2 separate regions of the Homo sapiens genome follow, and region 2 is linked to region 1. Evidence: promoter capture Hi-C in human tissues and cell types (Jung and others, 2019). All regions are on one chromosome and are shown on one strand. The core of a region is centred on a gene start or on the middle of the fragment in contact, and the rest is flanking DNA. Distances in the headings are between cores, read along the strand shown. Region 1 holds the start of CNPY2 (canopy FGF signaling regulator 2). Region 2 has its middle 4.8 kb from the start of LRP1.

Region 1 (7,888 bases), core at 4,746-7,245:
TTCCCCTTCCTGTCTCTGTTCTTGCTGGTCCCTCCATCTGGATGGGCAGGGAAGGAAGAATAATGCATATCCGTTATTTCCTTCAAGACCAAGCCCTGTCTTACTTTATGTTTCAACAGCCATGAACACAAGGGATTTCTAGAATTCTACACTACCATACACTATGTTCCCCTGCTTCCTCATGGAGGTTCCTCTATTCTCCACAATTAGACTCTAAAGACGTGGTATTGAGTGGGCACTGACTGAAAGCTTATCTAGTTTATGAGTGGAGTGGAATCTCAGAAGGTAGAAGAATTAAAGGTTCAGGCCTCTCCTACCTTTATCCTGTATCAATCCCAAAACTCTTCTTTCTCCTCCATTATCTTTCCTGTCTATATAACTCCTTATCTTCAAGCTTAATGTAAGGGCAATTCCAGGCATGAAAAGACAACACAGTTTGTACTTTTGGTTTCATATTTTTTCAGTTAATTTCAGTAAAAACATAATATATAAAAGGCATTGCCACCATTTTCCCCTCCTGGGGGTGATCCATCAAGCCAGTGTGGGCTGCTCCAGTGGTTCATAGCTCATCATGCGATATGTGCAGGGCATGGTCACAAAGATCTGCAAATGGCAAACAATTTAAAGGAATATGCCATTCTCATACTGATATCTGCCAGTATCAAGAAAATTTCCCAGACCAAGCTGACACAAACACACACCAACCACCATTCTGCAGAATATATGCTTATAAATGATAAAACATCCCCACTGTCCTCTCACCTGTATCTCAGGGTCAAGGGGACACAAATTCTGAAAGCTGACAGAAAATGTGGAGGAACACCCCAAGTCCCTAAGCCAAGGGAAATGGAAGACAGCTCTTGACCTAATACCAGAGGTTTCTGGGATGGGGGTGTATGGGTGAGTTAGGGAATGTCAGGTTCCACAGAGCTACTAGAACAGGAGATAAAGTGGGGGCAGCTTACCTGTTCGCTTACTGCAAAGTTTGTCTTTAACATTGTCAGCCTCTCGGGAAAAGAATTCAATGAGTTCATCCTCGTATTCCTCCACAATGCTCTCACACTGCCAACCCAAGGGAGAAATGGGTGACACAGGGCAATAAGAGGCCTCTTGCCTTCACTTCCAAAGAGGAGGACAAGGATATCAGCCTAACTTTCTAATTGGTTCTCCAACAACCCCTTAATGTCCAAGAACCAGCTACCGATTCCCATAGCTCACCGCAAACTTGAGGGTGCCGCTAATATCTGAGTCGATTCGGATGCCTTGTAGGTCCAGTTCACTGGATTCTCCATTCCGGCCCACTACACGTACGTAGTTCTTGCGATGGGTGGAAGGATCAATCTGTTCCCCATACTCCTTCATCCGGTCACATATCTCCTCCAGCAGCTCTGTGAGGTGGGCCTCTGAGCGGGCATAAGGCACCTAGAAATGTCCTCAGCCTTGGGTCACTCTCTTCTACCTCTGTACATTAGTAATTTATATCCTTACTTTTCTTTCCAAATCTAGCTCCAACAACCTATTCTAAAAAGCTTTCCCTAATTGATTTTAATTAGTTTTGTTTGTTTGTTTGTTTTTTGAGATGGGGTTTTGCTCTTGTTGCCCAGGCTGGAGTGCATTGGCGCCATCTCGGCTTATTGCAACCTCTGCCTCCTGGGTTCAAGTGATTCTCCTGCCTCAGCCTCCTGAGTAGCTGGGACTACAGGCATGCACCACCACACCCAGCTAACTTTTGTATTTTTAGTAGAGATGGGGTTTCTCTGTGTTGGTCGGGCTGGTCTCAAACTCCAGACCTCAGGTGATCTGCCTGCCTCGGCATCCCAAAGTGCTGGGATTACAGACGTGAGCCACTGTGCCTGGCCTAGTGTGGTTTTCATTTATTTTATTTTATTTATTTATTTATTTTTTTGAGACGGAGTCTCACTCTTTCGCCCAGGCCGGACGCAGTGGCACTATCTTGGCTCAGTGCAAGCTCCGCCTCCAGGGTTCACACCATTCTCCTGCCTCAGCCTCCCGGGTAGCTGGGACTACAGGCGCCCACCACCACGCCCAGCTAATTTTTTGTATTTTTAGTAGAGACGGGTTTCACCGTGCTAGCCAGGATGGTCTCGATCTCCTGACCTAGTGATCCGCCCACCTTGGCCTCCCCAGGTGCTGGGATTACAGGCATGAGCCACCGCGCCCGGCCTGGTTTTAAATTAATATGGTTTACTTGATAGTTTCAAAGTACTTCTTTTTTTTTTTTTTTTTTTTTTTTTTGAGACAGGCCTCACTCCGTTGCCCAGGCTGGAGTGCAGTGGTGTGATGACTGAGGCTCACTACAGCTTGGATCTCCCAGGCTTAGGTGATCCTCCCATCTCAGCCTCACACAGATGCACACCACCACACCCAGCTACTTTTTTATATTTTTTTTGTAGAGACGGGGTCTTGCCATGTTGCCCAGGCTGGTCTCGAACTCCTGTGCTCAAGTGATCTGCCTGCCTTGGCCTCCAAGAGTGCTGGGATTACAGGTATGAGCCACTGTACTTGGCAGTAGTTTCAACTATATGATTTTATTTTACCTCATTGTACAATTCTTTTTTTTTTTCTTTTTTTTTTTGAGATGGAGTTTCACTCTTGTTGCCCAGGCTGGAGTGCAATGGCGCGATCTCGGCTCACCGCAAGCTCCACCTCCCGGGTTCAAGTGATTCTCCTGCCTCAGCTTCCCGAGTAGTTGGGATTACAGGCATGTGCCACCACGCCCAGCTAATTTTGTATTTTTAGTAGAGACGGGGTTTCTCCATGTTGGTCAGGCTGGTCTCAAACTCCCAACTTCAGGTAATCCACCCGCCTCAGCCTCCCAAAGTGCTGGGACTACAGGCATGAACCACCGTGCCCGGCACCTCATTGTACAATTCTAAGAAACAAGACAGTTAACATTAGCTCCAAGTTATAAACAGAATTTTTTGATTAACCTGATCAACTTATACTTCTAATTTCTATAGATGAAGATAATTTTTTTTTAAATTATAGTTTAAGTTCTGAGATACATGTGCAGAACGTGCAGGTTTGTTGCATAGGTATACATGTGCCATGGTGGTTTGCTACACCCATCAACCTGTCATCTACATTAGGTATTTCTCCTAATGCTATCCCTCCCCTAGCCCCCAACACCCCAACAGGACCTGATGTGTGACGTTCCCCTCCCTGTGTCCATGTGTTCATTAATATTTTATTTTTGGCCGGGCGTGGTGGCTCACGCCTGTAATCCCAGCACTTTGAGAGGCCGAGGAGGGTGGCTCACTTGAGGTCAGGAGTTCGAGACCATCCTGACCAACATGGAGAAACCCTGTCTCTACTAAAAATACAAAATTATCCAGGTGTGGTGGTGCATGCCTGTAATCCCAGCTACTCGGGAGGCTGAGGCAGGAGAATCGCTTGAACCCGGGAGGCAGAGGTTGCGGTGAGCCGAGATCGTGTCATTGCACTCCAGCCTGGGCAACAAGCCCTAAACTCCATCTCAAAAAAATAATAATAATTTTGTTTAAATTGAGACTAATATCCTCAGTAAGCACAGTATTAAAGATGTAGTGTAGGCTCTGTGAACAACAGCTATTAAAGTACCATAATCTTTTTTCTTTTCTTTTTTTTTTTTTGAGAGGAGTCTCGCTGTGTCGCCCAGGCTAGAGTGCAGTGGCACCATCTCAGCTCACTGCAAGCTCTGCCTCCCGAGTTCACGCCATTCTTTTCGTCTCAGCCTCCTGAGTAGCTGGGACTACAGGCACCCACCACCACGCCCGGCTAATTTTTTGTATTTTTAGTAGAGACGGGGTTTCACCATGTTAGCCAGGATGGTTTCGATCTCCTGACCTTGTGATCTGCCCACCTCAGCCTCCCAAAGTGCTGGCATTACGGGCGTGAGCCACCGCGCCCGGCCTTTTTTTTTTTTCAAGACAGAGTTTTGTTCTTGTCAACCAGACTGGAGTGCAGTGGTGCGATCTTGGCTCACTGCAACCTCTGCCTCCTGGGTTCAAGTGATTCTCCTGCCTCAGCCTCCTGAGTAGCTGGGACTATAGGCATGAGCCACCACGCCTGGCTACTTTTTTGTATTTTTAGTAGAGACGGAGTTTCACCATGTTGGCCAGGCTGGTCTCGAACTTCTAACCTCAGGTGATCCGCCTGCCTTGGCCTCCCAAAGTGCTGGGTTTTGGTTTTTTTTTGAGACAGGGTCTTGCTGTGTTTCCCAGGCTGGAGTGCAGTGGCACAATCACGGCTTACTGCAGCCTCGACCTCCTGGGCTCAAGTGATCCTCCCACCTCAGCCTTCCAAGCAGCTGTCACTACAGGCACATGCCACCATGCACTGCTAACTTTTGCATTTTTTTGTAGAGTTGGTGTTTTGCCATGATGCCCAGGCTAGCACTGTAATCTTAACACTGCCTTATATATTGCTTATTAGATACACCTTTGTGTACATGTGTGTTGTTTTCGATTAAAATTTCCTAATTATGAGGATAAGACCTTTTATTCTTATTTCTGTTTTTTCATTTTTTATTTTTAGCTCCGACTCAGATTTTGAACGGATGTTTGCATGTATACCACAGTGCTACATTAAAAACCAGTCATGTGGATGTGGAGAAGGGTGCTGATCAGGACTCCCTGTTTGCTAACAAATTCTACAGCAGAAACAAAGTATTAAGGTTTGCAGCCAGGAAGCAAGTGCATGGGGAATAAGCCTGCAGCTTCTTCCAAATGAGACAGAGCCAAATCTTTTTTCTGAGTCTGTTTTCTTCATTTCTATTAAACCAAGGTCCTTTTTAAGCAGTCGAATTTCATCCAAAGCCAGAGTGAGCTACTTTGTTTGGGGGAACAGTAACAGTTACCTCCACCACTGACTGGCTGCCATCTGGATTGATCCGGAAAGATCCCATCTGAATGGTCTTCTTGGGGTCCACCTGGGCAATTTCCCATTCTAGTTCATCCACCAGAGCCCTGCATGCTGGTGGAAGAGGAGAGAATGAGAGCAGGGGACAGGGTAGGGGGTAGGGTGTGAGGAGAATGGGATCAACCCAGGATTTCCATTCATCCTTCTCCCAGGCCTTGGATCTCATGCCCTCCCAAGGCTCTGCTTCCTCCACTTCTTTTTCCCGTTGTGCCTTTACCTCCACAGTGGAGATCCTGGCTCCTCCGAGCCCAGGCGGTTCCCAGCAGGGCCCCCAGAAGCAGGGCCAGCCAACCCCAGCCTTTCATCTTTAGCGTAATGGGGTCGCTCCACCTGGGTTTGAGTGGGAATAAAACATAAGTGTGAGGAGCCGACTCCATTTTTCCCTGACCCCCCCAATCCTCACCCCAAGGCTTTCAAAGGCCTCATTGTGACTCTGGCTCTACTTTCCAGGAAATGGCCGGGACACAAAGGGGCTTCTCTGTTCCAGCGCTTGAGGGCTCTGATTCCCCCAGGGTGGTGGGTGGGAGCGCGAGCTCAGGACTTGCGGCTCAGCCCCAGACTCTACGTGGATAGGTGAGGCCCTAAGTGTTGGTACTTTAGCACTGCATGCCTAGGGTTCACGGGGCTTTGTGGCAGCTACAGGAGGTAAGTTGGCGATTACGTGAGGACTACAGGCACTAGGGAACTGCCGGCAGGGAGCCCTCAGTCAGGCCAGGAGGCCAGCGAGGAGAGCAATAACTAGGGCCCATTTGGATCCTGCACCGAAGATTCCTGCGTCCCCACCTCCAGCCCGTAAGTGATTACCCGTACGGACACCAGCCCCCTTTCTAAGGACTCCGCCATTGCTTTCGCTTCAGTCCATCCCCAACCCTCAGCGCCCAGCGCCTCGCCGCCCGCATCCGTCCCACCTCTGCTCCCAGGGCCGCCGCCGTGGCCCAAGCGCTGGAAGACCGCTGGACTCTCACTTTGGCCCCAGTGGCTCCCGAAACTACACCTGGCTGCAGGGAGCAGGGCTGTCCGGGATTCTCCAGAGCGCTTCGCCGCCTGCCACACACGGGGTGTCCCGGCGACCGCCTGACCCAGCTCCCCTGACGCTAACTGGTACCTAAGCGGGACTCCAGCGTGCTGCGGTGCGAGCCCCAATCAGACACCGACCCCAAACCCGCCCCTCCAAACTCTCGCGCGAACAGGCAGCTTAGGAGAGGCTCCCGAACAGCAAGGACCCCGGTCAATCGCCGAAGGACCCAGACTTGCGTGGCGAACAGATCCACGTGACCACCAGGGGTCAGCCGTAGAATAGGAGTGGCCTTAAGCGACGACAGAGTCCGGGCGTGCTGTATGGGAGCGGCTAGTCGTGCGCGTGAGCCAGCCCAGGTGGGCTAGGACCTTCAAAACGGTGCGCTGCCGGCCAGCGAGCAGTCCAGGTTTCAATACACAGGAAACTACATCTCCCAGGAAGCACCGCAGCACCGGACCCATCTTTGTGAGCAACTACAAGTCTCAAGCTATCCTGGGACCTGTAGTTTGTCGGCTTACACAATTAACGGAAACCATACTGTACATCTTCAGTCTGACTTAGGGTACTGGGCAGCTATAGCAAAGACCCAGCATTGCCCAGAAAAGGCATAAATTATACCTTTTTCCCCTTTTTTTGAGACGGAGTCTCGCCCTATCGCCCAGGCTGGCATACAGTGGCGTGATCTCGGCTCACTGCAACCTCCGCCTCCCGGGTTGAAGCAATTTTCTGCCTCAGCTAGGGTTACAGTCGCCATCCACCACTCCCAGCTAATTTTTGTATTTTTAGTAGAGACGGGGTTTCACCATCTTGGTCAGGCTGGTCTTTAACTCCTGACCTCGTGTTCCACCCACCTCTGCCTCCCAAAGTGCTAGGATTACAGAAGTGAGCCACCGCGCCCGGCCTAATTATACCCTTTCATATCCATAACTTTGGATTCCGGACCTTTACCTTCAAAGGAAGGAGAGGAAGACTGAAGCCAGAGAACCCACACTAGCAGTTCTCTAATGAGATAAATAACAAACGATATTTTATTTTTATTTTATAAAACATGCAGTTTACAACAAATTTTTAAAAAATGGAACAAAACTTGGGACAGGCAAGTGGGATGGAAGACAGATGCTTCTCAGCCATCAGCAGGAATAAATGAAGCCGGCAGCCAAGCTTTGTCCAGGATCCAAAGGCCCTTTTGGCAATGGTATTGGCAACACTGGTTTGCTTGGGCCACCAACACTCTACTTGCTGGCCCCTCCAGGTATCCCTGAAGCAGTTGGTGACTTGTGCTAAGTCTTGAACTACTGTGGTATCCTCTGTCACTGTCCAGGACTTCAATCCCTAGCCAGCTAGGAACTTACAGTTATGGTTCCAGGAGCTTCTCTGCCTGGATATTAGTCACCCAGGATATTAAGAATACCAATTACTTTCCATCTGGGTCAATTCTAGACTCCATGTCTGTACCACTGTTTTGCAAAGAATGAAGAAGGAATGAATCTGGCTCCTAGAACCTTTGCAACAATTCTGCTGTGTTCCAGTTCAATTAATAGCACCATCTGTGACCCTAGACCCTGAGCACGTCCAGTACTGGAAGTGGACAAGGTATAGCCAACTTAGGAAGCCATCTCCCAGTTCTGGGGCTATAGAACAGTAAAGGGAGAGGGCCGTGGTTCTTTGGGAAGGGTAGTCAGAGCGCCAGCACTGAGGAGAAGACAGCTGCATCTGTCAGAGACAAAACCAAAAGCATGATTCAAGCTGAGTGGAGAAAAAGCATCTTCTCATACTTCCTATGAAGGAAAAATGCAAGAGAAAAAAGGGCATGGACCTTCCCTGAACATTTTAGACTTGGGCAAGAGGAAGTTATAGTTAATGGAGAGTTTCGATAAAATGTATTTTACTGAATGTTAGGAGGATGAAGTGCTTTGTAAACTGTTAAGTGCTATTCTCCATATGTGCAAT
Region 2 (7,888 bases), core at 5,033-7,532, 810 kb after region 1:
TTCAAATGAAGGATACCTGAGCTATAGCCAGCTTTTGGCTACTGTGAAGAAAACTGCTATGAATATTCTGTGTTCAAGTCTGTGTGTGAACATATGCTTTCATTTCTCTTGGATAAATAACTAGGAATAGAATTGCTGAGTCACAGGGTAGGTGTATGTGTAGTTTTATAAGAAACTGCTACATATTGTTCCAAATTGATAGTACATTTTACATTCCCACTAATGATGTATGAGAGTTCCAGTTGCTCTGTATTCCCACTAACATTTGGTATTGTCAGTTTTTTAAAGTTTAATCATTTTGGTGAGTATTGAGAGGTATCACACTATGGATATAATTTCCTTTTTTTTTTTTTTTTTTTTGAGACGGAGTCTTGCTCTGTCACCCAGGCTGGAGTGCAGTGGCACGATCTCGGCTCACCGCAAGCTCCACCTCCTGGGTTCATGCCATTCTTCTGCCTCAGCCTCCCGAGTAGCTGGGACCACAGGCGCCCGCCACCACGCCCAGCTAATTTTTTGTATTTTTAGTAGAGACAGGGTTTCACCATGTTAGCCAGGATGGTCTAGATCTCTTGACCTTGTGATCCTCCTGCCTCGTCCTCCCAAAGTGCTGGGATTACAGGCGTGAGCCACCGTGCCTGGCATAATTTGCATTTTCTTAATAACTAAAGATGTTGAGTTCTTTTCTTTTTCTTTTTTCTTTTTATTTTTGAGACAGGGTCTCACTCTGTTGCCCAGGCTGGAGCACAGTGGCACAATCACTGCTCACTGCAGCCTCAACCTTCTAGGCTCAAGCAATCCTCCTGCCTCAGCCTTTTGAGTAGCTAGGACTGCAGGAATGCACCTCCATATCTAGATCATTTTTAAATTTTATTTATTTATTTATTTTGAGATGGAGTCTTGCTCTTGTTGCCCAGGCTGGAGTGCAATGGCACAATCTCAGCTCACTGCAACCTCTGCCTCCTGGGTTCAAGTGATTCTCCTGCCTCAACCTCCCAAGTAGCTGGGATTACAGGTGCCCACCACCATGCTCAGCTAATTTTTGTATTTTTAGTAGAGACAGGGTATGGCCACATTGGCCAGGCTGGTCTTGAACTCCTGACCTCGTGATCCGCCCGCCTCGGCCTTCCAAGGTGCTGGGATTACAGGCGTGAGTCACCACGCCCGGACTTTTTGTAGAGATGAGGTCTCGATATATTGCCTAGGCTGGTCTGAAACTGCTGACCTCAAGCGATCCTCCCACCTTGGCCTCCCAAAGTGCTGGGATTACAGGCGTGCACCACTGCACCTAGCCTCGAGTACCTTTCATATGCTTATTGTCCATTCATTGGGTTGTCATTTTATTACTATGTTATAGGAATTTTTAATATATCTCGCATTCCTCTGTCCCTTCTCAGATCAATGTTTTGTCTATCTATTTGGCTTACTTCCACATTTTCATAATAATGTCTTTTTTTTTTGAGTCAGGGTCTCACTGTCACTCAGGCTGGAGTGCAGTGGCACAATCAACTCACTGCAGCCTCTAACTCCTGGGCTCAAGCAATCCTCTCTTCTCAGCCTCTGGAGTAGCTGGGACTACAGGTGCACACCATCACACTCGGCTAATTTTTTAAATTTTTTGTAGTGACAGAGTCTAGCTTTGTTGGCCAGGCTGGTCTCAAACTCCTGGCCTCAAGCAGTTCTTCTATGTCAGCCTCCCAAAGTGCTGGGATTACTCCATAATGATGTCTTCTGACGAGCAAAAGTTTTCTATTTTGATGTTTCACTTATCAAGAAATTTATGTTATTGCTTTCTATAGCTTAAGAAGGGGTTGCTTTCCTCCAAATTATGAAGATATTCTGTGTTTTTGTCTAAAAGCTTTATGATTTTAGCATTTGTGGTTTAGGTCTATAATCAATCTTTTTTTTTAGACGGAGTCTCGCTCTGTCACCCAGGCTGGAGTGCAGTGGCGCGATCTCGGCTCACTCCACCCTCCACCTCCTGGGTTCAAGCAATTCTCCTGCCTCAGCCTCTTGAGTAGCTGGGATTACAGGTGCCCACCACCACACCCAGCTAATTTTTGTATTTTTATTTTTTTAATTAATTAATTTTTTTGACACAGAGTCTCGCTGTCACTCAGGCTGGAGTGCAGTGGTGTGATCTCAGCTCACTGCAACCTCCGCCTCTCAGGTTCAAGCGATTATCCTGCCTCAGCCTCCTGAGTAGCTAGGATTACAGGCATGCACCACCATGCCCAGCTAATTTTTGTATTTTTAGTAGAGACAGTGTTTTGCCATGTTGGCCAGGCTGGTCTTGAACTGAGCTCAGATGATCCACCCGCCTTGTCCTCCCAAAGTGCTGAGATTACAGGTGTGAGCCACCATGCCTGGCCTGTTAATTGTGTATTTTTAGTAGAAACAGAGTTTCACCATGTTGGGCAGGCTGGTCTTGAACTCCTGACCTCTGGTGATTCAACTGCTTCAGCCTCCCAAAGTGCTGGGATTACAGGTGTGAGCCACTGGGCCCAGCCTATAATCAATCTTGAATTAATTTTTGCATATGGTGTGAGGTAGGGGTCAAGGTTCATTTATTTCTCCCATATAGATATGAAGTTGTTCCATAACTATTTATTGAACAGACATTCCTTTCTCCACTGGCTGGCTTTGACATCTTTGCCAAAATCAAATGACCTTTACAGTGGGATCAGCCAGTTGGTGCAATACGAAGTCCCGCCTCTCATCCCCTCACAGAAACACAGATTTAACAATTTACTGATCAAAATACCTTTATGAGAAGTACAGAATCCGGTTGAGAAGTGTGGTACCCCAGACAAGTAGAGAGCTGAGAAAAGCTGCACTGAGATGGATCCTACATTCCTGGGTCTGGGAGTGGGCCTTTCCCAGAGATACCATCCTCCAGCAGTAAGAGACCTCCAATAGTCGGGTCTCAGACAGGTTCCAGCTAAGAGTAAAATCCCAGATCAATGGTGAAAAGGAGTTTAAGAATGGATGCTGAAGCCAGGCATGGTGGCATGTGTCTGTAGTCCCAGCTACTTGGGAAGTTGACAGGGGAAAATAGTTTAAGCCCAGGAGGTTGAGGCTGCAGTGAGCTATGATCATACCACTGCACTCCAGACTGGGCAACAGAGCAAAACTCTGTCTCAAAAAGAAAAACGAAGCCTGTGCCTAGTCAACATTGAAGCAAGAATGCAGAAGTTGCACAGGGTGAGATAGGGATGAGCAGGGTGGAGGGGTGGTAAACACAAAGGAATTGCAATAAGAAATCAAACAACTATCTGATTTTTTAAAATTATGTTGAGATATTTGGGGAAAATGATAGATGCATAGAAAACTAATCAAACGAAAAATAATTCCAAGATAAAAGTATATAAAAGTAACATTATAAAATAATAAACGCATATAGAATTTTTATTAAAAAATCAAATGATTGTGAGTCTATTTCTGGTTCTCTATTCTGCTCCATGGATCTGTTTGTCAATTCTCATGCTAGCACCACATAGTCTTGATTACTGTCACTTACAAGTCTTGAAATCAAGTAGCATAAATCCTCCAGCATTGATTCATTTATTTTTCTTTTTGAGACAGGGTTGCACTCTGTTACCCAGGCTGGAGTGCAGTGGCATGATCATGCAGTGATCAGGTTCACTGCAGCCTCAACCTCCTGAGCTCAAGCAATCCTCCCACCTTAGTCTCCTGAGTAGCTGGGCCTACAGATGCATGCCACCACAGCACTGGGATTTTTAAAAACTCTCCAGGTGATTCTAATGTGAGCCAAATTTTCTAGACTCAGATTTCTCTGTCACTATCTTCAGGCCTATACAGTTAACTGGTTAGTATACTAGATCCTACTTCTTTATTGTTTCTGAATCCTCTTCCTCTCCAGCTCCATCACTCATGCATTAAGGACTTCACCAATTTCTCAACTGGCTCTACACTACTTCTAGAAAAAAAATTCTAAGTCCTTACTGTGGCTAAAATCACGCTTTGTGATTAGGCTTTCTGATACTTCATCCAACACTCTCCCCTCAAAGTACCTTAAACTTCAGCTATGATACCATATTTGATGTTCTTCACATGTTTTAAACTTCTCATGCCTCCAATGCCTTTCCTGCCATCCAGCCTAAAACACCCTTTCCTTTTGTTATTGGTTGTCATTTTCTTCCTCTCATTCAACATTTAGCCTGGCATCATCTGCTGCTCTCTGTCTTGACCACCTTGTCTGGAAGAGGTATCCTTCCCATGTTCCCATGCCCTTCTGCACATGCCTTCATCACAGGTGTTAAGGAACTGACTGTATTGTCATTGTCTGTCTCTTGTTGAGCACCCAGCTAACCTGAAAGCTTCTTGAAGGCTGAGACTGTGTGTTTCCGTCTCTTATCCCTAGTGCCTAGCAATGTACTTGCTTATACGAGGTACCTAATATTTTTATTAAGTGAATGAAATCTGGGCTTGGATCTGCACCATTATTTGGGACAGATTCTTTAATCTCTCAGAACATTCTATTTTCTTATACACACTGGAAATAACACCCATGACAAAAGGTAGACTTAAGTGAGCTGATACTGTAAATAAAGTCCACTGCGTGGGCCTGGGACATGGTATGCGCTCAATAAATACTGGTCCTTTTCCCTCTCTCCGCCTGCCATCAGACCTTTCCGGGATACCCTTCCTACGCACACTTCCTTAACTGACCACTAGGTGGTGCTAGCCTCTGGCTTGACATTCAGTTCCAGAGCTACCCAATTAACGCCCCAGCCCAGGCCCTGCTATACTCAGAAAAGGCGGGTATTTTGTAATTTGCTGAGCGACCCGAAAAAAGAGATGCCCTTTACCCACACTAGCTTCTTTGCCCTCATCACCATTCCAGGTATCAATCATGAATTTCAGAGAATTCCTCCATGATTCCCTACTATTATGGTTATAATCTCAACCCAAGGATTTGAAGATGCCTCTTAAGAACAGATGTGGGGAGGAAGAGAAGGCACTGAGGCAGAGAGGATTAAACAATGAATGCTATAAGAGAAATAGAGGGAAGAAGATGCTTGAAGTCACATCCTGTTCCAGGAAAGGCAACTCTAGTCCTAACATTCCTTTCACCAATCAAGAGCCTCTCACGCTGGGTGGAAACGAAGAAGAAAAAGACATGGTCCCTGCCCTCAAGGAGTATATAGTCTAGTGGTGGATACAGAGCCCACAAAATAAAGTGCTAAACTCTGGATACTGAAGCTTTCCTGAATACAAGTTTGGAACAGGAGAGATAGGCAGAGCGAGAATAACAGGAGGGCTTTTCTGAGGAGGGTAGAGGAGCAGGGGAACTGTATCATTAATGGCTCAGATAGAAATATGCATTCTCAGCAGGGTGAGGTGGCTCACACCTGTAATCACAGCACTTTGGGAGGCCAAGGTGCATGGATCACCTGAGGTCAGGAGTTTAAGACCAGCCTGGCCAACATGGAGAAATCCCATCTCTACTAAAAACACAAAAATGAGCCAGGCATGGTGGTGGGTGCCTGTAATCTCAACTATTCGGGAGGCTGAGGCAGGAGAATCGCTTGAACCTGGGAGGTGGAGGTTGCAGTGAGCTGAGATCACACCACTGCACTCCAGCCTGGGCAACAAGAGTGCAACTCCATCTCAAAAAAAAAAAAGAAAGAAAGAAAGAAAGAAAGACATAAATATGCATTCTCTCACCTTACAGACATACCCTCAGCAGTTCACCTGCTGGAAATAACCCAAGTGCCCAACAATCCCAACAAACTGTGGAACATCCAAGCAAGGAGATTCCAAGTAGCCAAGATCAAAGGGTGAGCTAAATGCGTTCATACGGTATGGAAAGGGATCAAGCTAAGTTAATTGAAAAAAAGGCAAGTTACAGAACACTATATATCATATGAGTTTCTTTATAGTTTTAAAGGATATTCACTTATATTTGTATGTTACTGTTTTATTTATTTATTTATTTGAGACAGGGTCTCCCTCTGTTGCTCAGGCTGGAGTGCAGTGGCACGATCTCGGCTCACCACAACCTCCACCTCCTGGGTTCAAGCGATTCTCGTGCCTCAGCCTCCCCAGTAGCTGGGATTACAGGTATGCGTCACGATACGTGGCTCATTTTTGTATTTTTAGTAGATATGGGGTTCCGCCATGTTGGCCAGTGTGGTCTCGAACTCCTGAAAAGTGATCCTCCCACCTTCGTCTCCCAAAGTGTTGGGATTACAGGCATGAGCCACCACGCCTGGCCTGTATGTTACTGTTTTAAAAACTCTCCTGGCCGGGCACGGTGGCTCACGCCTGTAATCCCAGCACTTTGGGAGGCTGAGGAGGCCAGATCACGTGGTCAGAAGTTCGAGACCAGCCTAGCCAACATCGTGAAACCCCATCTCTACCAAAAATACAAAAAAAATTAGCTGGGTATAGTGGCGTGTGCCTGTAATCCCAGCTACTTGGGAGGTCAAGGCAGAAGAATCGCCGAACCCGGGAGGCAGAGGTTGTAGTGAGCCGAGATTAGGCCACTGCACTCCAACCTGGGCAACGGGGCAAGACTCCGTCTTGGGCGGGGGGGAAACCTCTGCTGGTAGGGGAGACCTGAAGAACTGTTAGTAGAAGTTACTCTGAGGGTGCAGCTGAAAAATGGGGGTGTGGAGAGCATCAAGTTTCCTTTTACTTTTTACCTTCCTGTACTTTTTTTAACCACTAGGTATTATCTTTTCTTTCTTTCTTTTTTTTTTAACAATATAAAGTTAATAAAAATACACATTCACATTCAGGAGACAGCAGGGGATGGGAGGTTGCAAGTGAGAAGTGCATGCTGACTGAGGCCAGGTTTTGGAAAGCCATGACTGAAGAGGAGTTCACATTTGACTGGTCTATAGACACCCACTAGAGGTTCCCCAGCAAGGAAGAGACACCGGGAAAGCAGTTTTTGGAAGATTCACCTGACAGATGGGTAGGGGGAGGGAGGAAAGCCCCTTCAAGCCCTCAGGCTACATGTGGTTGCTCCAGATACCGTTTTCCTCTCAAAGCTGTCAAGCTGTCTAAAGTCTGTTTCGACCTGATTTCACTTGGATCCCAATACTGGGAGGGGCCCTGGGAGGAACCTCGTAGGCATTTGGTGAGTCCGCATAGTGCGTCTCACATTGTGTTGGGCCATGGGAGCTGGATAAAAGGAGAAATAAGACCCCGTTCCTGCCTGGAGCAACTCTCTGGCAGTGGAAATGGAGGAAATCTGAGATATACTTCAGAGGAAAAAAATGACAAGCCTGGAGCACAGGCTGGCAAGATTGGATATAGGAAGGAAAGGCCCCCTTGAGTTGGCATAAAGTCTGAGGTTTCTAGCCCAGGAGACTAAAGGCAGGTGGCCACCGCGCTGAGCAAAGCCGGCTGGAAGAAGCTAAAGGTTGAGCTCACTGTCATTAGGAGGCAAGTCCTTCGTGCTGCTCCTGTTTCTGCCAAGGACAGACTGGAGTGGGGACTTTTCCGTAACTAGAACGTAAAAGGGGGAACAGTCCCTCCTCTCCAGCGTCAATTTTTGGCAGCCGACGTCGTCTGCCCCGCTCCTTGAACTCTGACATGCAGACACCTAGAAAGTCAGACACTAAGGTAACAGCCATAAAACGCCGCCCAGAAGGGGGCAGTGACCAAAAGCACGTTCACTGGCCCCTGGGAACCGCCTGGCGCCTGCCTTCTGCAAAGTATCATTCCCGTGTGGGCTGAGCCTGGGGACAAAGGTCCGGCGCTCAGCAGACACCTCCTTGGAACCCGAGGCCTGGAAACGAAGGTCCAGAGTCCCTCATCTTATTCCAAATCCTGGCGCTCGGAATCTAAAACCCTAACTTGATGGCAAGCCAGTCAGAAGGTATTAAAAAAAAAAAAAAAAAAAAAAACAGAAAAA

The links. Contacts are between HindIII fragments. The study calls those that stand out against the background at their distance.
Region 2: a contact is called between a fragment that was not itself captured here and the fragment with the promoter of CNPY2 in region 1, in 1 of the 25 tissues and cell types used here (hippocampus).

Annotation. Positions count from the first base shown.
Region 1 is chr12:56,309,993-56,317,880 of GRCh38, forward strand. CNPY2 (canopy FGF signaling regulator 2) reads right to left here and starts at 5,996. Exons shown (of 6, transcript NM_014255.7): 1 at 5,829-5,996; 2 at 5,138-5,250; 3 at 4,859-4,974; 4 at 1,219-1,422; 5 at 966-1,062; 6 at 1-603. The coding sequence starts at 5,225. The coding sequence ends at 560. It overlaps PAN2 (poly(A) specific ribonuclease subunit PAN2), which reads right to left. Exons shown (of 26, transcript NM_014871.6): 26 at 6,944-7,651. The coding sequence ends at 7,617. It overlaps CNPY2-AS1 (CNPY2 antisense RNA 1), which reads left to right and starts at 1,422. Exons shown (of 2, transcript XR_002957416.2): 1 at 1,422-2,507; 2 at 4,537-4,816. RefSeq lists enhancers at 5,981-6,569, 6,070-6,119, 6,200-6,349. The HindIII fragment of the contact is 7,285 bases long and covers 962-7,888 here.
Region 2 is chr12:57,119,758-57,127,645 of GRCh38, forward strand. No RefSeq gene overlaps it. Among named protein-coding and RNA genes, the nearest start is that of LRP1, 4.8 kb to the right of the region's middle. RefSeq lists an enhancer at 7,733-7,888. The HindIII fragment of the contact is 3,004 bases long and covers 4,781-7,784 here.